Regions from separate parts of the Homo sapiens genome. Here regions 2 and 3 are each linked to region 1. The links are contacts of gene promoters, found by promoter capture Hi-C in blood cells and fetal thymus (Javierre and others, 2016). All regions are on one chromosome and are shown on one strand. Each heading gives the region's core, a stretch centred on a gene start or on the middle of the fragment in contact. The rest is flanking DNA. Distances are from core to core; before and after follow the strand shown. Region 1 holds the start of ACTR8 (actin related protein 8). Region 2 holds the start of ZDHHC3 (zDHHC palmitoyltransferase 3). Region 3 overlaps KIF15 (kinesin family member 15).

Evidence for each region. The method cuts DNA at HindIII sites, captures the fragments that hold promoters and counts their contacts. A CHiCAGO score of 5 or more calls a contact.
Region 2: the fragment with the promoter of ZDHHC3 here is called in contact with the fragment with the promoter of ACTR8 in region 1 in 1 of 17 cell types (total B cells); the score reaches 8.7 in total B cells.
Region 3: a contact is called between a fragment that was not itself captured here and the fragment with the promoter of ACTR8 in region 1, in 1 of 17 cell types (non-activated CD4 T cells). The highest score is 10.6, in non-activated CD4 T cells.

Annotation. Positions count from the first base shown.
Region 1 is chr3:53,880,533-53,884,384 of GRCh38, reverse strand. ACTR8 (actin related protein 8) reads left to right here and starts at 2,233. Exons shown (of 13, transcript NM_022899.5): 1 at 2,233-2,406. The coding sequence starts at 2,284. RefSeq lists silencers at 2,017-2,106, 2,497-2,606 and an enhancer at 2,267-2,346. The HindIII fragment of the contact is 9,111 bases long and covers 1-2,890 here.
Region 2 is chr3:44,974,563-44,978,521 of GRCh38, reverse strand. It overlaps ZDHHC3 (zDHHC palmitoyltransferase 3), which reads left to right and starts at 2,348. Exons shown (of 7, transcript NM_001135179.2): 1 at 2,348-2,589. It overlaps EXOSC7 (exosome component 7), which reads right to left and starts at 2,278. Exons shown (of 8, transcript NM_015004.4): 1 at 2,188-2,278. The coding sequence starts at 2,244. RefSeq lists silencers at 2,312-2,381, 2,502-2,601 and an enhancer at 2,824-3,368. The HindIII fragment of the contact is 4,817 bases long and covers 1,951-3,959 here.
Region 3 is chr3:44,766,998-44,770,964 of GRCh38, reverse strand. The region is part of intron 1 of KIF15 (kinesin family member 15); the gene reads right to left. Among named protein-coding and RNA genes, the nearest start is that of KIF15, 7.2 kb to the right of the region's middle. The HindIII fragment of the contact is 3,204 bases long and covers 381-3,584 here.

The DNA.
Region 1 (3,852 bases), core at 984-3,483:
TTGAAACCAAGTGTTCAGGTGAAAGCCTTTTTATATTGATTTATCAGCATTTATTCAACCCCGTTTGTCGGGAAATGGGATGTTGTGGCATAAGATACCAATATTCAGGATAAAGAAGCAATTACAATGCAGGTTTCAGGATAAGGATAACAGTTTGCTGGCCACCTCAATTATGTGTCAGATTTTATTTATTTTTTAATTTTTATTTTATTTTTATTTTTTATTTTTATTTTTGAGACAGGGTCTCACTCTTATCCAGGCTGGAGTACAGTGGCTGCTCACTGCAGCCTTGACCTTTTGGGCTAAAGTGATCTCCCACTATGGCCTCCCTAAACGCTGGGATTACACGTGTGAGCCACAATGCCCAGCCTGTAAATTTTTACACATTTTAAATTCTGACAAAGTGAGGGATATGTATAATGTATACATATATACAAAGTGAGGTAAATGTATAATGACATTTGCATTATACAGATACATGCAAGGGTTCAGTAAAGTTTGGCAGCTTCCTAGATTGTATTGCCAGTGAATGGCAGAGGCATTATTAAACCTCCACCTTACCCTATAGCGGGGAGACCATGGCAGAGTCTCAGTAGGTGGTTGATTGTTGTTACTGATGGCTCTTCCTGAGCATGTGAACCATGGTCCTCTTCTGCCTCCTAGCACTGCTGCTGCAGGACTTGTTCCTCGGGTCTTATCCCAGAGTTCTGGCTGCATTTGACATTCAGGTATTCTTCTTTGCACTTCAGATAGAATGTAAAACACAGGTTCTTGAGTACTTTATGCTTAACTCTTGTCTTTGCTACTCAATAGCTTATGATCTTGAGTGAATTATGCCATTTTATCCCACTTCACTCACCTGTAAAACGGGGATTAAATTTTTACCTCCAAGAGTTCTTTATTTAGTATTTAGTCATCACATGCTTATTGGGCACCTACCATGTGCTGAAGATAACTGGCAAAGTCTCACGGAGCTTACATTCTAGTGTGGGAGACAGTGAGCAGGCATGATAATTACAGACTAATGCTTCATGCTTCAAAGGGAATAGGATGATGAGAGAATAACTGCGGAAGGCCTGAGGTGACATTTGAGTTCAGACGTGAGAATGAGACAGCTGAGGGAAGAGCATCCAAGGCAAAATGAACAGCAAGTGCAACAGCCCGATGACGGGAAGGGCTTGGCATGTCTGAGAAAGATAAAACAGGTGTAGCTGGAAATGCCAAGGAATGGGGAGAGTGTTGTGAGGTGAACTTAGAAATGTAGCAATAACTAGATATGGTCTTTAGGTGGTGGTTAGTTTAGATTCTGTTCTTTGAGCAAAGGGAAACCATTAGAGTTTAAAGCATGAGTGACATCTAATTTTTGAGGTAAGTCTTAGTGGAGTGCTGGGTACATAGTAGTATTAACTACGTAATATTTTAAAACAACGTGGGCAACTATATAAGAACAGATCATAGGGGGACAGGACAAGGAGTTCGAGTTAAGAGGCTGTTGTAGTCATCCAGGTGAGATGATAGTGGCTTGGGCTAGGTAGTGGCATGGGAATGGAGAAGTGGATGAATTCAAGATCTATTTTAGAGACTGCAGGATTTACTGATGGATTGGATGTAGAAGCTGTCAACAAGTGAAGAATCAAAATGACATTTACTGAGATGGTGAAAGTGAGAGGGGAGGGAATCAAGAGTTAAATTTTGGACATATTTAAGTTTGCAGTGCCTTGTAGACAATCCAGATGGAGAGACCAAGTAGGCACTGGTTATCAGTACGGATCTCTCTGAGCGGTTCATCCTGGATATATATATTTGGGAATCGTATTCATTGCTAAAGCCAGGAAACTGGATAGTCACCCAAGGAGTGTGCCTGGAAAAGACCTAACCCCAACATCAGAGGCTGGACTGAACATGAAGACATATGAGAAAAACTAAGAGTACATATGGTATCTGGGAAGCCAGGAGAAGAGATGCCTGTGAGGACGAAATAAGATGCGGGTTATCAGCCGACCCCCACTAGGCGCTCGAAAAGCTATGTGTACTATGTTGCTGGCATCTACACAGTCAGGACTAATCACAGCAACACCCACCCAATCAATCCGCATGCACACCCCGCCCCCAGCCCCTGCGCCGGGCAGCCCCACCCCCGCCTTTTCGGAGCCCTCTGGGGCGACTCCGCGGCGGCCATCTTGACTGTGGGCAGCCGGCCGTGCGCCTGCGCGGTGGCCCTTCCATCCCGGCAGTCGTGGCTGCAGCGCTGAGGCGAGAGGTTGGTGGGTGTCTCCGGCCATAATGACCCAGGCTGAGAAGGGTGATACGGAGAACGGAAAGGAGAAGGGCGGCGAGAAGGAGAAGGAGCAGCGCGGCGTGAAGCGGCCCATCGTGCCCGCGCTGGTGCCGGAGTCGCTGCAAGAGGTGCGGCTCTGGCTGGGTTGGAACTCTTTGCCCTTGCTTGGGTCCTCCGCTGCCAGGCAAGGGGCGGGAGGCGGCGGGAGGCTTCGAGTCCCCCTTGCAGGCCCCAGCCCCTGGTGGGGGGAGTGCGGAAGCGGTCGTTCTTTTCCGGGTGGTGGCGCGCCGGGACGCCGAGGGCTGGGAGGTGCGGAGCGCCAGGAGCCAGGCGGAGCCCCCGCAGGGACACCGCTCCGATCTCCCGCACGCCCCACCGTCTGGTTGTGTGCGCTCCTGCCCGGGCTCTGGCCTCAGCTTCCCCGACCATAAAACGACCACGGTGATAACCAGCCGCCTCGCAAGTTGCCGTGAGGGTTAAATGGTGGCAGATAGAGTTTAGGACCAGGCTGGCTCACTGGGAGCGTCAGCCTGTGCTTGTTAAGGGATAGTTTGGGGTCCAGGCTTTTTCCTTTGTTAAGGAAATCTCAGATAATGGAAGTCATTTCAAGCTTAAAAGCAAGGAAATGGTGGACATTTGTCTAAATATATATTAAGAGCTTGTGTATCAAAAACAACACTATTAGACCAAACTAAACTAACCAGAAAAAATTATTTGCAGTAGCGTGCCTGGCAGAGGACCTTAGATGTATACACATACACAAAACCTTACTGATCAGTAACTAAAACAGCATTCACGTAGGAAAACGGGCACAGGCAGTGTACAATTCACAGAAGAAATGAGGCATAAACTGCTCAGAAATTCATGTAGGACATCTCTGATCCAGCTTCCTTACCGGTAGATGGGTTAAGGATAATACCTAACTAGTAGGGCAGCTACTAGTTAGTTATCACTAGTATGACAGTGCCTGGCACACCGTAAGCCCAGAGTGGCCATTACTGTTGCACAGGCCTGGTTTCTCCATCTGTCTAGTTGAGAAGGCTGACTGGATGGTCTGTAAGGGCCTTGCCAGATCCTTCCCTCTAGGATTCTCCCACTCTGTGGGGGGTGATTAGGAGGAGAGAGGTCACACTTGGAGATAGGACAACAGGTATCAGAGCATGGCATGGAATGGGCTTGTGCAGAGGGCAGTATTGGGCACTCAAGCAAGTACCTCCTCCATCCCCGACAGTCAGGGAGGGTTTCTTCAAAGGAGGTGAGGTGACATCTGTTTAGAGTCCTGAAGGTGATTAGGAGCTAACCAGAGGGAGGAGGGAATCTCAGGGAAGAAGAACAGTGTGGAAGACACTTGTGCCAACAGAGGATGTGAAGTGTTGGAGGCCCAGCCAGTAGATTAGGATGTCTGGAGTTAAGGAAGGGGACTGAAGATCTTAGCAGGGGCCATATCATGAGGGTCGTGTAAGCCACAGAGTCTGACCTCTTGTGAAGGCAGTGGATCACGTTGAAAGGCTTTACTATAGTAAGAGCCAACATTCCTCGAATGCTTCCTGTGGCCCAGCTCTGAGTTACATGTA
Region 2 (3,959 bases), core at 1,099-3,598, 8.9 Mb after region 1:
GTTTCTGCATCTTCCTTCTAGCATGAGAGCTATATAAGGACAGGTTCCTTCCTAGCCCCTGAGTCTAGCTCAGTTCTGTGTTGAATGAATGAATACTGAGTCCTGAAGATACAGAGGAGGAATCCTTGACATGGATTTAGGGGAGCAATTCCACCTCCTTAGGGAAGCCTTCAGAGCATTACAAGTCCCTGGAATTCTTTTTATTTATTAAAAAAAAATTATTTCTTTAGAGATGGGCTCTCACTGTGTTGCCCAAGCTGGTCTCAAACTCCTAGGCTCAAGCAATCCTCCCATCTCAGCCTTTCAAAGTGCTGGGATTACAGGCGTGAGCCACAATGCCCGGCCCCTGGTATACTTTAACTTCAACCTCCACTAACTATACCACTTCCTTGGCATAGATCTTACATTACCTTTGTTTTTATTTTATTCACTTTTACTCTCTGTTTGTCTCCCTCCTATCTTTCATTTATTTCACAACCATGTTTTGGCATCCCTGCTGTTTCCCACATAACATGCCAGGAGCTAGATATATGTTGGTAAATAAAATTAACTAATGACCATGGTGGGACTCTGCTGCTGGATAGCTAATGAACTGCCGTGGGAATTAAGGGTGCTGGGGAGAAAGCTCTAACCTTGAGGTTACAGATATATCCATGCCTCAGTGCCACTTTCAGGGATGAAATGTTGAGAGAAAATAGGACACATGACAGAGTCACTACATCATGGTAAGCTCCGGTAACAAAGAAGACCAAAGGTTTTTAAATTTAGAGGAAAACGGTTATCCGTAATGTGTCCCTAAAAAAATACTTTGAGGATAAAAATCACCTGAACAAAGTGTATACAAAAATATAGCAGGGAAAGACATATCTAACTGCTTTTGGGCATTTTTATGCCCCCTCACACACAAATAACATACATGTTACCCTGTAATACACACATATGTCCCACTGTTGTTAATCCTGAATTATAACTAAAATATGCAACTGTGAGTTCTGACTTTATTATCCAGGCATAATATGCTAAATATTGGCATTTCTTCATATATAAAGGGCCCAGAAGATAACGGCAGGTCACGATTTTTAAATGGACATGTCCTTAACTCACGTTGTGGGACTTCAATGATAGCTGGCCGCTTCAATCCGATGGCTACATCACGGGACCACTGACTTTGCAGTTGGTACTGACAGAGGAAAGGCATGAGGAAAAGAGGTAGGAGCTGTCGCCAGAACTCTGCCAAGGATGGGATGAAGAACTCTGATAGGAGGACCACACCGTAGGTTAACAAGTGGAGACACAGCCGGAGGAGGATACAGGGTAGCTCGTTACCAGGTCCAACATTTTTCAACCCTCGTTCTGGAGTGGTCATAACCAGGGATTTAATATAGAACACAGAGGACATTAGGTTATAGCTGCCTAGGGATCTTAGTTCTTCATTGGCAAAATGGAAACAGCACTTAGGCTATCGGCTGCCTAGCCGCTTTTTTTTTGAGACTCGGCTCACTGCAACCTCCGCCTCCCGGGTTCAAGCGATTCTCCTGCCTCAGTCTCCCGAGTAGCTGGGACTACAGGCGTGCGCCACCACGCCCAGCTAAATTTTTTTGTATTTTTAGCAGAGACGGGGTTTCACCATGTTGGTCAGGACGGTCTCTTGACCTCGTGATCCGCCCGCCTCGGCCTCCCAAAGTGCTGGGATTACAGGCGTCCTAGCCGCTTTTTAAAAACCCTTCCCCCTTTATTTGTACGGCAATTTGTATTTTCAAAGTGCGTTCACCTCGCATGCGCCCTCCTAACCACGAGGTGAGGAAAAGCAGGCCAGAAGCCCACCTCCAAACTCCCATTTCCTCGAAGAGAAAACTGAGGCTCGGACAAGATCTGTGCGCGAACGCCGAATGGATGGCCCTGGGGCCGATGCTCTCTCACTAAGAAAAGGCCTCCGAGACTGCCCAAGCTTCCTGCCCGGGTTCGGAATCTTATAGACCCGCAAAACTGCAAATGCGCTAACAGTCCTAAAAACGTCCACGTTGCCAGCTCTGAATTGCAAACGCCGGCAGCAGAACCGTTTAATCACAAGGTAAACGGAGAGTCGCCGCAGCTCGGCTGCCTCCTCACTGGCAAACCCAGGGCAGGCCGCGACCCGCAGGGCCAGGCTGAACCCGGCGGCCGACCCAACGCCGCTGCTGTAGCTACCTGGACGCCATGCACGATGTACACCTTCTCCGCCTCGCTCAGCGTCACGGACGCCATGCTGCCGAGCTGCCCCACGAGCCGCACGTCATCTGCGCGCGTCCCCTCCTCTGGACCGCGCCCCCACGTCCCACCCCCCCCCGCCCCGCGTCAGCGCGTCATCAACCTGCGCGGCGGCCGCTCCTGCAGCCGCGGCCGCCGCCACTGCCGGGAGAGCTCGATGGGCTTCTCCTGCGCGCCGCCCGGTGTCTGGCCGAGTCCAGAGAGCCGCGGCGCCTCGTTCCGAGGAGCCATCGCCGAAGCCCGAGGCCGGGTCCCGGGTTGGGGACTGCAGGGGAAGGCAGCGGCGGCGGCGGCGGGAGCCCCACCGGGGTCTGGGACTGGGGAACTGCCTCCGGCTTCACGGTCAGTTGGGAAGGGAAACTGGGGTAGGGGTGAAGAAGCTGGGGTGAGGCGAGCCTCACGGGCCGGGGGACTCCCAGTGGGAGAGGCGTGCGGCGTAGTTGCTCAGAGCTGGAGTTGACTTAGGAGCGTGTGTGTGTGTGTGTGTGTGTGTGTGTGTGTGAGAGAGAGAGAGAGAGAGAGAGAGACCCCGACTAAGGAGGGGCGGACGTCGTGATTGGCCCGGGGGTGCTGTTTCCCTGCTCTTCTCCCCTCCATTTCTCTAGTCCCTAGGATGGCTGGAGAGGCGATGCAGCCCTCCCTAGGTAGTTCTTGGTGGGAAGGGTCCGGGAATGGGGGACACTAGTCCTAAGGCGTCCCCACCCCTCCACCCAGGAATATCTCTCGCTGGCTCGCTCACTCTCTGTGACCGAACGCTGTCCCATTACCTTGCTGGGACCTCTTGCCTCGGGTGCTTACCAGAGCGTTGTCCCACAGACGGGGGAGGAGGCGCTTGGTAACCGGCACTGGCGAGGTGCGCAGTGCCCGGACGTCCCCAACGCTTCCTAGCGGGAACTGGAAACCCCGGCTTGATGGAAGTGATTACTGGGAGCTGTGAGCAGTTGCCCGAAAAAAAGCCAACCCCAACCCCTTGCGATGGCCGAGTGGGAGTATGGGCATTGGATACCCGGAGAGGATATCTGCAAGGTGAAGCTGGGGTCACCAAAGGAACTCATTAAGGCGGGGCTGACAAAGTATGGTGCAAGTTTTAAAGGAGCCGTGTGGATAAATGGGAGAAAGTTAACCCAAATTAGTTGAAGCAAGGAGGGCAGGTTAAAGCAATTCTGATGACTTTCCTGATGTTCCATTTTTGAGGACCCTCAGCCAAAAAAAAAAAAAAATGGTATTTATCAGATAGTGGGTTCAAATACAGTTTCAGATAACTATTGGGAGCCTACTATAGATAGGCTTTGTGCTACCTTTAGAACACAAGACAAGTAAAACATACTATGCCCAGAGAAGTTCCCTGGGCAGATGAAGGCTCCAGGGCCAACATAACCACAGATCATGGTGGTTAGAGCTATGATGGTCGCATCAGTGGGCACAGTGGGATTGGGAGGTCGTCTGATAAGGTTATAGAGAGGAAGTGCTTGCTCACATTCTTAAGCATTAAACTGCTGAGCTCCAAAATTGATGATCAGTTCTTCGTAGACTGGACATTAGATGTTTCTTATGTCTCTACGTAATTCTCCACAGGGGCACCTAAAAGGAAGACAGCTTGCAGGGTTGGACTTTGCCTTCCAGGGAAACTGAAAGAGGTGAAGCCGGAAGGATTTCCTCCCTAATGAAGGCACAGGTGCCCCACCTGTTGTGGCACTTAGATGTGTTTGTGT
Region 3 (3,967 bases), core at 733-3,232, 9.1 Mb after region 1:
AAGCAAAACAAGAGTTAACTGGATGGACTTAATGAATACAAAACTGAAGTAATCTTTTTGACTTTCGCTTGGACCATTGCCAATCCTTGCTTTGTTTTTCAGAGTGAAGGAAACTTATTTTGAACTATTTACAGCCTTTAATAATTGAGTAAGGTATACTCCTGTGAACAAAATTTGGAGCATGTTTGTCTCTCTCTCTCTGCCTGGCTTCTCCAGAATTTGGAAACTAGTTGTGAGTATACTTAACTTATGACAATATATTTGTTTGCATCAGTGCAATAAGATTCCATTTTCTTTGCAACAGGACACAACTGAAGACACTAGTTGTTTTACCAAGGCCTTTGACTGGAAGGGTATGCTTCCTTTTAAGGAGTCAAGCTTGACTTGCAGAACTGATAAAAGCTCCTTGGGAAAACTGGCCTCATACCTTGCCTACACAGTCCCTGTACAGGGTTCCTAATCTGCGGTGAGTAAGAAGTGTCACTTTTTAACAGGCCCAGGAACCCTATGCTCTTGGGACCTCAAGAAGAGAGGAGTTTACCCAACTCACAGGTATTTGAGGGTAAAAACCCACAGCTGGGTTCAGCTTTAGAAAGTCCTATCTGAGATTCCTTGTGGAATAGAGTTCCATCAAAGCCAATCTAAAAGCCCTCTGTAAAAATAAGTATTCTTGCTGCACTTCATGCAAAGAATCAAGCCAAGTATAAGACCAAAGTCTATTTTGCAAACAACTCAGTCCTATCATGGTTTGTTTTTAAGAAAACTGAGGACTGGAGAGAGATAAATTATGTTTAAAAACTTATCATCATTAAATTCTAGACCCACTAGTTGTTTTCAAGTTTTTTGCCTAGTTCGTTTAAAAACTAACCCTGCTTATGCCTGTGATCCAACCAGAGATCTCCAACTACAGCCCAGAAGGAACAAAGGGGGATGGGTAATGTAAAAATCTGAATCAATATTCTAGTTCTAAGCAATTATCCTGCAAATCCTGCTAGGTGGTGGGAATAAATACAGTGCCTGTCATCCAGAGGTTTCCTTTTTGGGAAAGTAAGACCAAGGGAGCTAACCAAAGCCAAGCTCCATGCACCCAAATCTTAGCAAACATAACTATAGCCACCAGTTATCTGGGTGTGTCACAGGGCATCCTTTTCTTTCCCTTGGAGGAGGACCCCTTTCACAGCTTCACCTTAGCATTCAGCTTATGATAAGGAGTCCATACAACCCCTGAGACATATTTTTGGTCCCAAACTCAATTCCCAACTTCAGGTCAAAGCCCTAAGAAAAAAAAAACTGGATCTGAGGGATCCAGAAGCAGACGGTAACAGAAGTTAAAAAGCACAGCACAGGTGAGCATGACTAACTCCTGCCGATTAAGCCAAGCCTCCTGTTTCATGGATAAACATCATGCTAGTATCCACGACATAAATGAGGTCTAGAGAACTTGAAGGCTACTGACAGCAGGGGAGATAGGGCGTACGTGGGTAAGCCCTGTTAACATGGGGGAAAGCCGCTTTGACATTCATGGGTGGCACCCTTTGATGATCACCCAGGTCTTGGGGATATAAGGACAGAAGAAATGAAAAGGGGCACGTCACTTTCTCCCTCCCTCACCTACCCTGGGTATTCACTAGGAAGAGAAAGGAACCAGGGACACCTGCTCCCCTCTTTCTTGATGGATTGCCATTCATCTTCAGTCTGTGGCCTTTTTGAATACATCCTGAACCCCTGGGACTCCTTTGAAAAAAACACCTTCTTTTTTCCTTTTCCCCTTGTGTCCTCTCTTCACAGATAGGTAATTGTGTCTCCTTACTACAGCACACTCCCCTTGGATCCATCCTCTAAACTGCGAAAAGTTAATTTCCCAAACCTTAAACTTGAGAATAGCTTAGGACTGGGCTTGGGGGAAGGGAACCTCGAAGACTGACAAGCCAGCAAAAGGGTAAAAATTTTTTTTAACTTTTAACAATCAGGCTTTTGGCCTCCCTCTCCCTGTGCAAACCAGTAAAAGGCCTCGGGATTTTCGAGCATGACTTCTGGCATGACTTCTGTCCTTACCCCATCCTTGTTTTGTTTTGATACATGTTTTCTAATAACTCAGTTTGTCTCTTCTCGCCTTCAGGTCATCAAACTCCAGTCGTGCAACTGGAGCCTCAGATAATGGTCCCTTTTGCCAGGAACCTTTAGATTGGCCTCTTAGGGAAATCTGACTGCCATTTTCCCAACACAGCACCCCCTGTCAGCAGGAAGCAGTTAAGATTGGTCTTTGTCCTTATCTTTATTCTAAGGGCAGTTAGATGTACTTCTTTAGAGTGGGGAATGATAGAGACAGGAGACAGCCAAACGCCTGCCGGGTCACTGAAAAATTCTGTCCCTTAACACATGCGCAGTAAGGAAAATAAATCAATGTGGAGTGGCTCAGACTAAAGGCCCACATGCGCCCTGGGAGAATGGAGTGGAGCCACTGGGAATTTGCACCTTATGCAGGGGGAGAAGCCTGGCCTCTTCAGCTGGTGTATCACACTTTTTTTCACTGAGAGCTTCCTTTTAATAAATTCCACTCTCCTCATCTTTCGATGTGTCCGCGTGCCTGATTTTTCCTGGTCATGCAACACGAACTTGGATTTTAGCTGAGCTAAGGAGCAAAAAATCTTGCATCAGTGGTTTTTTTTTTCTTTTCTTTTCTTTTTTTTTTGAGACGGAGTCTTGCTCTGTCACCAGGCTGGAGTGCAGTGCCACGATCTTGGCTCACTGCAACCTCCACCTCCCAGATTCAAGCAATTCCCCTGCCCTCAGCCTCCCAAGTAGCTGGGACTACAGGGTGCACCACCACGCCTGGCTAATTTTTTGTATTTTAGTAGAGACGGTGTTTCACCATGTTGGCCAGGATGGTCTTGATCTCCTGACTTTGTGATCTGCCCGCGTTGGCCTCCCAAAGTGCTGGGATTACAGTAGTGAGCCACCATGCCTGGCCTGTTTTTAAATACTAGGTACAAATTGATGATTCACAAATTTAAACCTTCCTGGACTGCTGTCCTGAGCTCCACACTCCTTTTTTTTTTTTTTTTTTTTTGAGATGGAGTCTCGCTCTGTTGCCCAGGCTGGAGTGCAGTGGCGCAATCTCCGCTCACTGCAAGCTCCACCTCCCGGGCTCATGCCATTCTCCTGCCTCAGCCTCCGGAGTAGCTGGGACTACAGGGGCCTGCCACCACGCCCTGAGAATTTTTTGTATTTTTAGTGGAGACGGGGTTTCACTTTGTTAGCCAGGATGGTCTCCATCTCCTGACCTCATGATCCACCCGCCTCGGCCTCCCAAAGTGCTGGGATTACAGGCGTGAGCCACCACGCCCAGCCGAGCTCCACACTCTTACAACTTATTACCTATTTGATATCTCTAACTGGATATGCAGTGGGCAATGAATCAAATTTAATGTGTCCAAAATTGAGCTCCTGATCACCCCACCTCTAGCCCAAATGTGTTTCTACATCTCCGTTAACTCCATCTTTCCAGTTGCTTAGGCCAAAAACCATATAGTCATCCCTGACCCTGTTCTTTCTCACTCTTCGTATCCAATCTCAGCAAAGCTTTGGCTCTAATTTCAAAATATACCCACAATCCAACAACTTCTTGCCAAATCCACTGCCACAGTGTAGAACCAAGCCAGCAATATCTCTTTATTGTGTTATTACAATAGTCTTTCTGCTTCTCTTTCTCCCCCACTCTCATCTTTTCTCAACCTAGCGGGCAGAATAATTCTGTTAAAAAAGAGTTCAGAGATTGACTTCTGACATGACATTATGAGGAATTCCACTGACCCACTCCCCAGTGAAACTGGTGAAATTTAAAAAAAGAAAGTTGGCCGGGCACGGTGGCTCACACCTGTAATCCCAGTACTTTGGGAGGCCGAAGCGGGCGGATCACGAGGTCAGGAGATCGAGACCACCCTGGCTAACACGGTGAAACCCCGTC